Regions from separate parts of the Homo sapiens genome. Here all the other regions are linked to region 3. Evidence: promoter capture Hi-C in 16 types of primary human blood cells and fetal thymus (Javierre and others, 2016). All regions are on one chromosome and are shown on one strand. Each heading gives the region's core, a stretch centred on a gene start or on the middle of the fragment in contact. The rest is flanking DNA. Distances are from core to core; before and after follow the strand shown.

Region 1 (3,760 bases), core at 813-3,312, 270 kb after region 3:
TCTTTGATACTTTCTTTATTCTTTTTCTCTATTACCTGTTAATTTCAGTTGGAATTCCAAGGCACCTTAGAAACAAGACATGCCTAGAAAATTTGACTATGTGTCCACAAGGCTGGAACTGAATCAATAATAATTGCTTCTTTCAATCTGAACATGAAACAACGTGGATCAATGGCTGAGAAAACTGCAGAAGTTATGGATCTCTGGCCAGGCTCAACTCTCAGAATGAAATGGTTAGATTTCTTCTTTGCAATATTAAACTCATTTAATAGCTACTAAAAGACAGGCACACTCCTAGGGTGTAATACATTAGCAAACCAAAGAATCAAAGATCTTTGCCCTTGTGGAGTTTACATGCTAGGGGAAGAGATAAGCAATGAAAAATTATCTTATTAAATATGTAATTTATATATTGTGTTAGAAGTTGGAAAGTTTTATGCAAAAAAATGAAAATTAAGGGAGTGGGTTTACTGCAGGTAAGGTTATATCCCAATAAGATGGTGACATTTTAGGAAGGATGTGAAGCAGGTAAGGGACTATCTAGAAGTGAACTTTCCAGGAAAGGAAAATGGCTGGAGCGTGTGTCTTAAGGCCAGTGAATGTCTGGAATATTCAAGGAACAGAAAAGAAGCAGCCAGTCAATCTATCTAAAATGAGGGATTGAGTGAAGAATGCGGATCATTAGGGTCTTGCAGGCTATTGTAAAGAGTTTAGTTTTTGCTCCAAGCAAAATAGGGAGATACTGCCAAATTATGAGGGAAAATGTAATAGGATCTGACTTAAGTTTTAAAAGAATCATAATCTTTGCTGTGATGAGGTTGGCTACTGAGTCTCAAATGTAAACGGAGGGAATCATGTTATACGGCCTTTGCAGTAACTGTGCAAGATAATAATAGACTTAAAGGGCACTGGAGGGAGTGAGAATGAGAAAACTAGAAGAAATCTATGACAGCACTCTGTATTTTGTAAAGGGAATCTTTGATGCATTATCTGGGGCCGTCTTTATATTGGTTTGAACTGAGCAAGCACAATGCAAACAAAACGTGGATGTGGGCAGATGGAGCTACATTCAGCAATTGGTAAGCCTTACTAACATGTATTTACTATTAAATGTGTAAAGCGTGGTAAAGATTCTGAGTCTATAACTGGCTTCCTCCATAGATTCCTCCACATCATCCCCCCAAAAGACCCTCAAAAAATAGATGCCAAAGAGAATATTTAGACAAAGTTACGGTTTTTAGTGAGGGTTTGGCATCACATATCAATATTTATGTATATATATGGAATTGGTATATACCACATGTGAGTCACAAGTGTTCCCTTTATCCTGAACTGGATGCAAGTCTAAGCAGTTTGATCCTTTCCTCTTTGGACCTGGGACCTTGCCTTTTGTTTTTGTTTTTTTTGTTGTTGTTCCTTTGGCCTTTCATTGATGGGAGAGCATTAGAGAGTGTACTGAAGCCTACACTTTCCGCACCCACCAGTGGCCTGACATGCACAAGAGTAAGTTAAGAAGAGAACGTGTTTGCCTCAGTTTACCTTTGTTTAAAATTCAAGAACTTCTTTATATTCCATAGCTTGAAAAAACTCATCATACACTTAGAATCTATTTTGTTCTTAAAACACTTACAAATTTCTCCAACGTCAGGGTGGAGAAGGTCATATAAAGGATATTGAGTTCTCAGTATTCTTTGGTGAACTAAAGGTGACCACTAGCTACCATTTATTGACTGCCCACTTTGTAATAGATACTGGTTCTGTAGCACTCCATGCCAGATATTACATGTTGTATATAATATAATAAAGTTAGTAGCGGAACTTTCTAAAGTTGAGAAAATTCTCTTATGATTATTGTATTTACATTCAATTTGGGGTGAAAATGCACAATGATTTGAGAGGGATAATATACCCAATATTATATTTTATCTTTGAAAAATGTAAAAAAAAAAGACAGATTAAACTTTCTGACTATAAAACATAATATTATATTTTCTTGAAAGAAAATATTAACAGCTTAATGTGGCATTACATATTATATACAGGCCCATCAAAAAATGAGACAGGAGTTAACATTGGTGTATTAATTTGCTAAGTCTGCTGTAATAAATGCCACTGAATGGGTGGCTCAAAGACAGCTCTGGGGGCCGTTAAGTCCAGGATCAAGGTGTTAGTAGGGTTGGTTTCTTTTAAGGCCCTTCTCTTTGGCTTGCAGATGGCTGTCTTCTCACTCTGTGTTCATGTGGCCTTCTGTACACACTCAAGTCTGTGTCTAACTTATTTCTTCTTATAGGGACATCAGTCATATTGGATTAAGGTGCACCCTAAAGACCTTTTCTTACCTCAATCACTTCTTTTTTAAAAAAAACAAATACCTTATCTCCAAATCTGTTACATTCTCAGGTACTGGGAGTTAGGCACTTAATGTATGAAATTTGGGGGCCTATAATTCAGCCCATAACGGTTGTTATTAGTTGGCACTATGGATTGGATAAGCATAAAAATACACATATATTTTGGGAATGGGCAGGATAAAAATTTGAAGTTACCCTAGAAGTTAGGAAAGTGTACACCAGTACTGTGAAGTTCCCCCAAATAATTACAGTATAACCAGAAATGTATCATGATTAACCATCCTGTTTTCCTCCGTTTTGAATTTTGAATTTCACATGTTTATATGTATGGCATAAAATATAAATGTAGGAAATCTTTTCTTTAGATTTTATTTGTTTACTTATGTGTATCGTAATCTATTGAGTAAAGAATACCTGTTTCACTACAGTGATGGTGATAAAGAGTGGCCAAATGTGAACATTTATTTCAGCATTAATAGACCAATTTTGTAATATATGAAAGGTATGTTCAATGAAATGTCAGTTACACTCCCCTTCTTTATAATTTCTAAATGGCTAAACACATTGATATATCAATGTTTATGCTACAGTATAAAGGGAAGAATCCAATCCCTCACAAAATGATTACAATGTTTGCTATAGTATCAACAGCGTAAACTTCCAGGACTGTGTTGTTAGGCACTGAAGTCACATAGTGTCCTTTTCTTCCTGCCATCAGGGTCCTGAGGTAAAATTTGGAGAAAGATAGGAGGAGAGCAACAGCTTGTTTCACTTCCTCTACTCCTTCCACACTGCACGTGTTTTAGAAACCGGGCTAATGAAATTTACGTTCTATTTTCGAGGCTGTGCTCAGTTATTTCTCAGGAGGTCCAGTAAATAAAGAATTAATCTATTTGTTTTGTCTTTAGTCAAGTTATGAAACTAGCGAATTATTTACATTAAGTGGATTTGTTGTTGCTGTCGTTGCTGAAACTAGTGAAAGAATCGAGTTTTGTGCTATGAGTCATGGGAGCAAAACGTGAGTATTTAGAAGTGGAGAGGACCACGAAGAAGGAAGCCCTGGTGACTTGAAGAAATCATGGAGAGTTCTCCGGATTCCCACAAACCTATGGGGTTTAGATTCCAGCTAATACTTACACGGGTCTCAGAAGGACAGAGGGCAAGGGTTAACATCTGGCTGATATTAAAGTCTCTGCACCTCTTAATATTTTACTTTGGCCTAGTTTTCTTTTCTTCGCTTTTACATTTCCTGATATAATGAGTAATTCTCTTTTGAGTATTAACTTGTACCATGAACTATGCTAAATATTTTTACCCCTAAATGATGAAGAATTTTTATCATTTTTTGCTGAAATAAATGAGCAAATGAAAGATTGTTTACCTGGGATTATAGTAAATGGTAGAACCAC
Region 2 (4,081 bases), core at 175-2,674, 300 kb before region 3:
TTCTTTACATATTGAGAGGTGTATTTATGTGTAATATTTTATGAGATTTGTGATCAGCATAGTGATTTTAATCTTAAACTCTACAATAAATATTCATTTTGCTCTAATTCTGAGGGCTTTGTCATGCTCACTATATATTCTGCCTTTTGATTTTGTATAGACTTTTTATGGCATACTGTTGCAGTAACCCTGGGAGTTGCTGGCTGGCATTTGCAGGCTTACGATATATGCATGAGTATCAGCTACACATATTTCATATGATAGCAATAAGACAGGATGAAAAATGAGACACTATAACTGTGGAACCTCTACGAAACTTTGTAAACTATAAGGTTCTAGAGACATGTTAGCAATCATAATGGTACTGATGATATTGATGAAAATGATTTTATTATGTTGTTATCATTTAGTTTTTGTTTATCATTTAGCCACACAAAAGAGCATATAGCTGTGATTACACAAAAATTTCAGATACACTACACTTTACTTACCAGTGAAATTTTAAAAATAAAATTTTAAAATAATTTATTTTAATAAAATTTAAAAATATGTTAGTGTATATATATACTAACACCTATTTTACATATGTATACTAACACTTATTTTATACTAAAAATAAGCTAATATATATATACTAGTATAAATTAGTATGTATGTAGTATGTATATAATATACACACAGACATAGTGTACCCATGTATACACACACATATATATACATGTAGTATACTAGTATAAGTTAGTATGTGTGTGTGTATACGTATATTATATATAAAATAACACTAAGTTTTTTTGTGTGTAAAATGGGGTTTGCATATGACCAGTGAGTTGGGAGAATCTTTGATTATTACATTTTTATCTTACTGAAATACTGCTTAAATCACAAAGAGAATAAATTTGATGTCCTTTCTATACAAATAAAATGTTACTAGAGTTATAGAGTGAAGAACATGAATAAAGGACAGATTTGGGTATTATAATTGCCAACAATTCCTGGGTAATAAACTGAAATATACCAGTTTTGATATATTTCACATCAGTTTTTACAAAACTGTCCTCTACACTTTCTTTCAATATCTTTATTCTGATTATTATTAATTATTTGGTTCATTCATTCAACAAACAACTTTGGGTATCTTCTATAGGTCAGGAACTATATATGGCACCGATGATACAGAATTTTTTTTTAAATTATCAGCTTTCAATGAGCTCAGTTGAAAGGAGAAGTTTTTTTTAAGTGAAGCAGATTGAAATATAAAATACTGCTAGTGCTGTAATCGTATCATGAAAGGATCAGATGAATGTCATATAACATCTTGAGGTCATAAAAGCTTCCCTGTAGATCATAATTGATGTGAAGTAGAGGACAAGCAGGAATTGGGGGGCTGAAGGTAAACAAGACTAATGTAGATGGAGTGAAGAATATGAATAAAGGGCAGATTTAGGTATTATAATTGCAAATAGTTCTTGGGTAATAAAAAATGTGGCTAGAAATTGATTTGGACAGGTATGAAGCTTCATGAGGGTCTTTTGCACTATGTTAAAAATTTTTAGATTTCCCCTAAAGGCAAAGAAAACGATTAGATGATTTTAAGTGAAGGACCAATATGACTCATGTTACATGAGCAGATATGGATTTTAGAGAGGTCAATCTGAGTAGCCTAGAAAGTGGGTGGGGGGATGTAAAGGAAATTGTTTTAGGAGTCAAGGTTAGTGACAATGACTGTCTAAACTGGCATCATGAAAAAAAGCAATGATGGGTAGGAAACCTATATGAGAAATATTTACAACGTAGAATTGCAGGAATCTGCATTGGATTCAGTGGTTGAGGGAGAGGAGGAAATCCATAATTTCATATCATATCAGCCTTCACACCTTGATGGATATAATTCTATTAAATGTTATAGAAAACACAAGAAGAACATTAAACTATGTTTGTTGTGATAATGGTGATGATTTAGGTGCTTTGTGGTATATCACTGGAGACAACCAGAAAGAATTGGTCTGTGTCTCCAGAGTGAGCTTTTAGTAGCAGACATAGACCATTGGCATGTATATGGAAGGATTAAATGTCTGAGATCAAGAGAGATACCTAGACTGGATATATAAATTGTGGAATTATCAATTAATATAATAAGTATTTGAAAACATTGTAAGGAAAGGAGAGCCAGATGACAAAAAAAGCTTTGTAACATCAGGGAGTATTATATTATGTTAGAAGAGAAGGGGTCAGAATGATGATCTTTAGGATAAGTCAACATTTAGAAATAAAATATGAGTAAATAGCAAAAAAAAATGATATTTTGATGAGACAAGTAGGAGGGAACCCAATATAGTAGAGTATCTGGGAGAGTAAGCTATGGTGAAAGTAGATTGCAATGGCTAAAACCTATTGGCCAATTAGGAAACAGAGACACTGAGTTCAAAAAAATTATTTTTTAAATTATGGCTAAGAAAAAAAATTTACCAAGCATTGAAAGTATGGAGAGCTACATGATTCTTCTTCTTCTTTTATTTATTTATCTTTTTTGAGATGGAGTCTCGCTCTGTCACCCAGGCTGGAGTGCCATGGGACTATCTCAGCTTACTGCAACCTCCACCTCCCAGGTTCAAGTGATTCTCCTGTCTCAGCCTCCCAAGTAGTTGGGACTACAGGCATACGCCACCATGCCCAGCTAATTTTTGTATTTTTAGTAGAGATGGGGTTTCACCATGTTGGTCAGGCTGGTCTTGAACTCCTGACCTCAAATGATCCACCCGCCTCAGCCTCCCAAATTGCTGGGATTACAGGCGTGAGCCACTGTGCCCGGCCTTATATGATTCTTATATGTTATTAAAGGAAATATAAATTGATACAACCACTTTGGGAAACAGTTTGATTTTATCTTCTAAAGCTGAACATGGCTCAGGAATTCTAACTACATATCCAAGAGAAATATTTGCATAAGTACAACAATGCAAATTTACAGGAATATTTACAGCAGTGCTGTTAACAATTTGAAACATCTCGAAACTATCCAAATAACCATTAATGGGATAATGATTGCAAATCCTCCAACAAATACACAGGGACCCATCCATCTGTCTCAGAAAAAAATTTCTCTTCCCACTGAACAAGTCTGAAACTCCCACCCCAGTGTTGATTTCAGCCCTAGTATAAATAAGCAAGAAGGTGAGGGGATTTATGCCTGATAGCCACTAGTTTTATGTGAAGTAGCAGAGGAGGGGTAGGATAATATTTACGTAAATTATCTACTTCACCTCCTTGATTCTCCCAGAGGAGCATGACAATATGAGGTGAAAATAAAAACCAAATTTTCTGTACAATGTCATACAATTTTATAAAGTTAAAACATTAAAAACAAAAAATAATTTTAAGGAATAACAAAGCAATAAAGTATGTATAAAATAAATCAAGGGAATTCATCACATAGGATTCGGTATGATAGTTACATTTTTGAATGAGGTAGGAGGACGGGAAGGAGTGAAATATACAAGTAGATAAATGTAATGGTTATGGTCCTAGCTATAGTTTTGGGTTACAACTAACAAAGTGAGTAACTAAATAAATAAACAGAAGTTCTTGGAGCAATGATAAAAGCGTCTTATGAATGAAATATTGTGAATAATCCTATCGGGCACCTCAAGGTCTAAAAATTAAAAAGAGACAACTCTGTTTTAAAGAGCAGGAAAAAGAAATAATAGAAATCTGGGAAGCAAGAGTGGCTTGAGATTATTATATACAAGAGAAGAGAAACATTGGAGGGAAAATGTTAGAGGAAAAATGATAATAGAAGTGGAATAGCTAGAGATGATGATTCTTTAGGACATAACAGGGGGTGATATCCACACTAGGGATGGAAATTTTGGAGTTTTTCAGTGGGAAGATAAATTTTTTTTCTGAGATAGATGGATGGGTACCAGTGTATTTGTTGGAGGACAAGCAAGAAGATGAGGGAATTTATGCCTGATGGTCACTATTTCTATGTCAAGTAGCAGATGAGGGCATTTTCTGAAAAGGACAGTCAAGGAGGTCTAGTAGATAATTTAGAAAAATATTAAATAATAGAAATATCTGTTGA
Region 3 (3,922 bases), core at 282-2,781:
GAATGAAGAGCCCTAATGACTTTTTTTTCTTTTTAAAGGAAAAGGGTTACAAGAGGTTTCTACTGCTGGGCTAAGGCCCTGGTGGCTTCTGGTAGCTATAAAACCACGAACGTTAGGTAAGGATTAGAGAAGAAACCCAGAGTGGCTGTGAGTCAAGAAAAGACATCAGATAACAGCAATTATTTTACCATTATGTGACACGTAATACTAATGTTCCTACCTGAAGATAAAGAGCACAATTTTAAAATCTCCGCTCCTCCATTTCCAAAATCCAACAGCTGCTGGTCCCCCTACCACTTAAGCCATATTCTGCCCTCCAATTCGGCTGCGCAGCCTGCATTAGAGAAACACCAGGCAAGTGGGCGGGGGAGGGGGTAATGGGGAAAACGCCCGGATGCTGAAAGATACCTAATACTTTTCTGTTCCTACTCACTGCCTGCGGTAGTTTTAACTACTTAAGCCGGTGTCCAAAACGGAGAAAAAACGTCTCAGTCCTGCCTTATCGCGACCAGGTACCAGGTGATCAGAAATCAACACGAGGAGGCTGGCTGTCCCCACACAAGCCCCGGAGCCTAGAACGATGAGGCAAGAGGGCTGTTGGGCAGAGAACGTGACCTTGTTTTCCAGGCCAGGACTGTCTTGTGCTCCCCTAACCCCCTGTAATGCAAGAAAATTACTGAATAGCTTCTGAACCTTTTCGTCCCAAGACCAATGATATGAGAGCCAAAGTCAACTTCATTAAAGGAGAACCAGCCAAGGCAGAAATCGACTGGGTTTGCGCAAACCTCACCGCACAGCACAATGTCCCTGCGTTCTTAAAGGCAGCCAATCCATGGCCCCGATCTAACCAGTCTCGCCCACAGGGGCCCTATTTTGTGCACCGCAACCCACACACGGTCTCAGCTGCTGAGACCGTGTGTGGGTTGCTGAGTCACTGAAGACGGCGGCTCGGCCCCCAAAACGCCGTCAGCCCTGAAGTGGGGTTCGGGGCCCAGGCATACGGGGTTTTAAAAGCTCTACAGTCTGGACGTCCATTGGCTCTGGCACTGAAGGGCGTTCAGGATTAAGTAATTCTCGGAACCTCCCTTCTCCAGAGCCGCCTGGGCGCCCCAGGGAAGCCATCTCGACTACCCGCCCCCGCCCCCGCGGGCCCTTCCCCTCCCATCCCCTCCGCTCCTCTACACTCACGGGGACCCTGTCCGGATATTTCTTCCGGATCTTTTCTCCTTCCTTTTTCCGATACTCAAAGGGATGGTCCTCCTTGTACTGGAACTTCATGATGCACCGCAGGGCTTCCGAGATCCCCGCGCGGGGCCTGCCTCCTTCGCCGCTGACCCTGTCCCGCTCCCTCAGCCGACGTCAAGGTGTGCTCAGAATAGCTGCAGAAACGTCCGCTCCGGGGGCAACAGCGCTGGGCCGAGTGTGCAGGGGGGGTTCGGGGCGGGGATCTCGGGTGAGCCTGCCTGGAGGTAGAGGAGAGCCAGATGGAGAAATACCGGCGGCTTTTCGCTAGAGCTGGGAGCACAAAAACAGCTGGGTGGCGCGTCGGGCTGTGACGTCACCCCGCGAGCCCCGCCCCGCCCCCCATGCGCCAGGCGCCCAGGGCAGGGGGTGGCCGAGCGCTCTGTCTCACTGCGTTTCCTTTCTGGCTAACCTTTTTCACAATCGATGTCACTGCAAACATCAAAACATTCGAGTTATGTTTTATTTTGTGACTGTGAAATTAAAGATGGTTTTAAGACAAAAAAAAGATTTAAACATGTTTTATTCCCCCTCCACTGTTTTTCTTGGTTGGGCCCCAAAACAAATACAAAAGGCGAAAATCCAGCCTTTTCCTGCTGGTTGGGATCCAGCCTCAGGAGAAAAGAGGGCCAGGCCTCCTGGGATCCCTTTGGCCAATGCAGAGCTGTCCCGTGCTTGCACCGTGCCCTCTGCGCGTTCCGCTGCCCCTCCCGCGGCCCTCCTCCCGCGCTGGCGTCACAGTGTTTGGGCGGTGCCGCAGTTCGCTCCTGAACAGCAACATAAACAGAGCGTGACTCAGGAATCTGAAGAGAGGAGTCAGATGAAGGACACGGAGTGTAATCAAAGTCTAAAGGAGACATGATGTCAGTAAGGACTACCGAGGGCTTCACGTACAATCAAATATAGAAATGATTCACTTTCTAGCCGGGCGCGGTGGCTCACGCCTGTAATCCCAGGAGGCCGAGGCGGGCGGATCACCTGAGGTCAGGAGTTCGAGACCAGCCTGACCAACATGGAGAAACCCTGTCTCTACTAAAAATACAAAATTAGCTGGGCGTGGTGGCGCATGGCTGTAATCCCAGCTACTCTGGAGGCTGAGGCAGGAGAACCGCTCTAACCCGGGAGGCGGAGGTTGCGGCGAGCGGAGATCACGGCGTCGCACTCCAGCCTGGGCAACAAGAGCGAAACACCGTCTTACAGAAAAAGAAAGGAAGGGAGGGAGGGAGGGATTCACTTTCTGCCATAAACTCAGAAAGGGGGCTCGTCTTCTGGAAAAGAGAGTATCAAGCAATTTAGGTGATGACCTCAGTTGTTCCCCCACATCTTATTTAGTTCCAGTGGTTAGGTATCCCTCACGTGACTAGAAAGCGCTGCCTGGAATGCTAGTAGAAGATTGGGCATTAGGGCAGGTGAGGCGAAGCCTCGTTCTGGATTTCCCCACCTAGAGTCAAAGAAGAAAGACCTTCCAACCAGTACTGTAGGGCAGCGACAGGGAGGACTGTGGAGTTTGCAAAGAAAAAGAACAGTGAAAAGGGGCTGCGTTGCCCATACAAGTCGGGTGAGTTCTGATAAATATTAGATAACAGCAGCCCCGTGGCCTATCTTCTTCAGTCGGGGTCTCAGTGTCTCTAATTTTAAAAACACCCACAGGGGGCCAGGCGCGGTGGCTCACGTCTGTTCTCCCAGCACTTTGGGAGGCCCAGGCCGAGGATCGCTTGAGCTCAGGAGTTCAAGACCAGCCTGGGTAACATGGCAAAACCCTGTCTCTACAGAAAAAACAAAAATTAACAAGGCATGGTGGCGCGCTCCTACAGTCTCAGCTACTGTGGAGGCTAAGGCAGGAGAATCGCTTGAATCCGGGAGGCAGTGGCTGCAGTGAGCTGAGATCGCCCACTGTACTCCAGCCTGGGAGAGAGAGCAAGACTCTGTCTCAAAAAGAATAAATAAATAAAAATAGGCCGGGCGCGTTGGCTCATGCTTGTAATCCCAGCACTTTGGGAGGCCAAGGTGGGTGGATCACGAGGTCAAGAGATAGAGACCATCCTGGCCAACATGAGACGAGTGAAACCCCGTCTCTACTAATAATACAGAAAAAATTAGCTGAGCCTGGTGGCGCTCGCCTGTAGTCCCCAGCTACTCGAGAGCCTGAGGCAGGAGAATCACTTGAACCCGGAAGGGAGAACCCGGGAGGGTTTAACTATATTTGCATCAAAACTAAAATGAGGCCGGGCGCAGTGGCTCACGACTGTAATCCCAGCACTTTGGGAGGCGGAGGTGGGTGGATCACGAGGTCAGGAGATCGAGACCATCCTGGCTAGCACGTGAAACCCCGCCTCTACTAAAAATACAAAAAAATTAGCCGGGCGTGGTAGCGGGAGCTTGCAGTGAGCCAAGATCGTGTCACTGCATTCCAGCCTGGGCGACAGAGCTAGACTCTGTCTAAAAAAAAAAAAAAAAACCTAACATGAGCGACTGAAAATTAAACTGTTTTCAATTTGAAAGTAAGACTTAAAATTATAAACATATAATGTGATAAAATAACTCATGGATTTTATTTATTTTATTTATTTATTTGATATGGAGTTTCTCTCTTGTCGCCCAGGCTGGAGTGCAATGGCTCCATCTAGGCTCTCTGCAACCTCTGCCTCCTGGATTCAAGCAATTTTCTCCGGCCTCGTCC

Evidence for each region. Contacts are between HindIII fragments. The CHiCAGO score rates a contact against its expected background, and 5 or more counts as called.
Region 1: a fragment that was not itself captured here is called in contact with the fragment with the promoter of GABARAPL1 in region 3 in 1 of 17 cell types (neutrophils); the score reaches 5.3 in neutrophils.
Region 2: a fragment that was not itself captured here is called in contact with the fragment with the promoter of GABARAPL1 in region 3 in 2 of 17 cell types (total CD8 T cells and naive CD8 T cells); the score reaches 7.3 in total CD8 T cells.

The regions. Positions count from the first base shown.
Region 1 is chr12:9,936,382-9,940,141 of GRCh38, reverse strand. It overlaps LINC02470 (long intergenic non-protein coding RNA 2470), which reads left to right. Exons shown (of 5, transcript NR_104634.2): 3 at 49-233; 4 at 972-1,079; 5 at 3,328-3,563. Among named protein-coding and RNA genes, the nearest start is that of LINC02470, 5.2 kb to the left of the region's middle. The HindIII fragment of the contact is 6,613 bases long and covers 1-3,760 here.
Region 2 is chr12:10,512,463-10,516,543 of GRCh38, reverse strand. All of the region lies in intron 3 of LOC105369657 (a long non-coding RNA gene), which reads left to right. It also overlaps a transcript of EIF2S3B not described here. Among named protein-coding and RNA genes, the nearest start is that of EIF2S3B, 8.6 kb to the right of the region's middle. The HindIII fragment of the contact is 184 bases long and covers 1,333-1,516 here.
Region 3 is chr12:10,210,486-10,214,407 of GRCh38, reverse strand. It overlaps GABARAPL1 (GABA type A receptor associated protein like 1), which reads right to left and starts at 1,531. Exons shown (of 4, transcript NM_031412.4): 1 at 1,189-1,531. The coding sequence starts at 1,278. It overlaps GABARAPL1-AS1 (GABARAPL1 antisense RNA 1), which reads left to right. Exons shown (of 3, transcript NR_170310.1): 2 at 39-354; 3 at 446-759. RefSeq lists a silencer at 1,399-1,658 and an enhancer at 1,752-2,294. The HindIII fragment of the contact is 15,130 bases long and covers 1-3,922 here.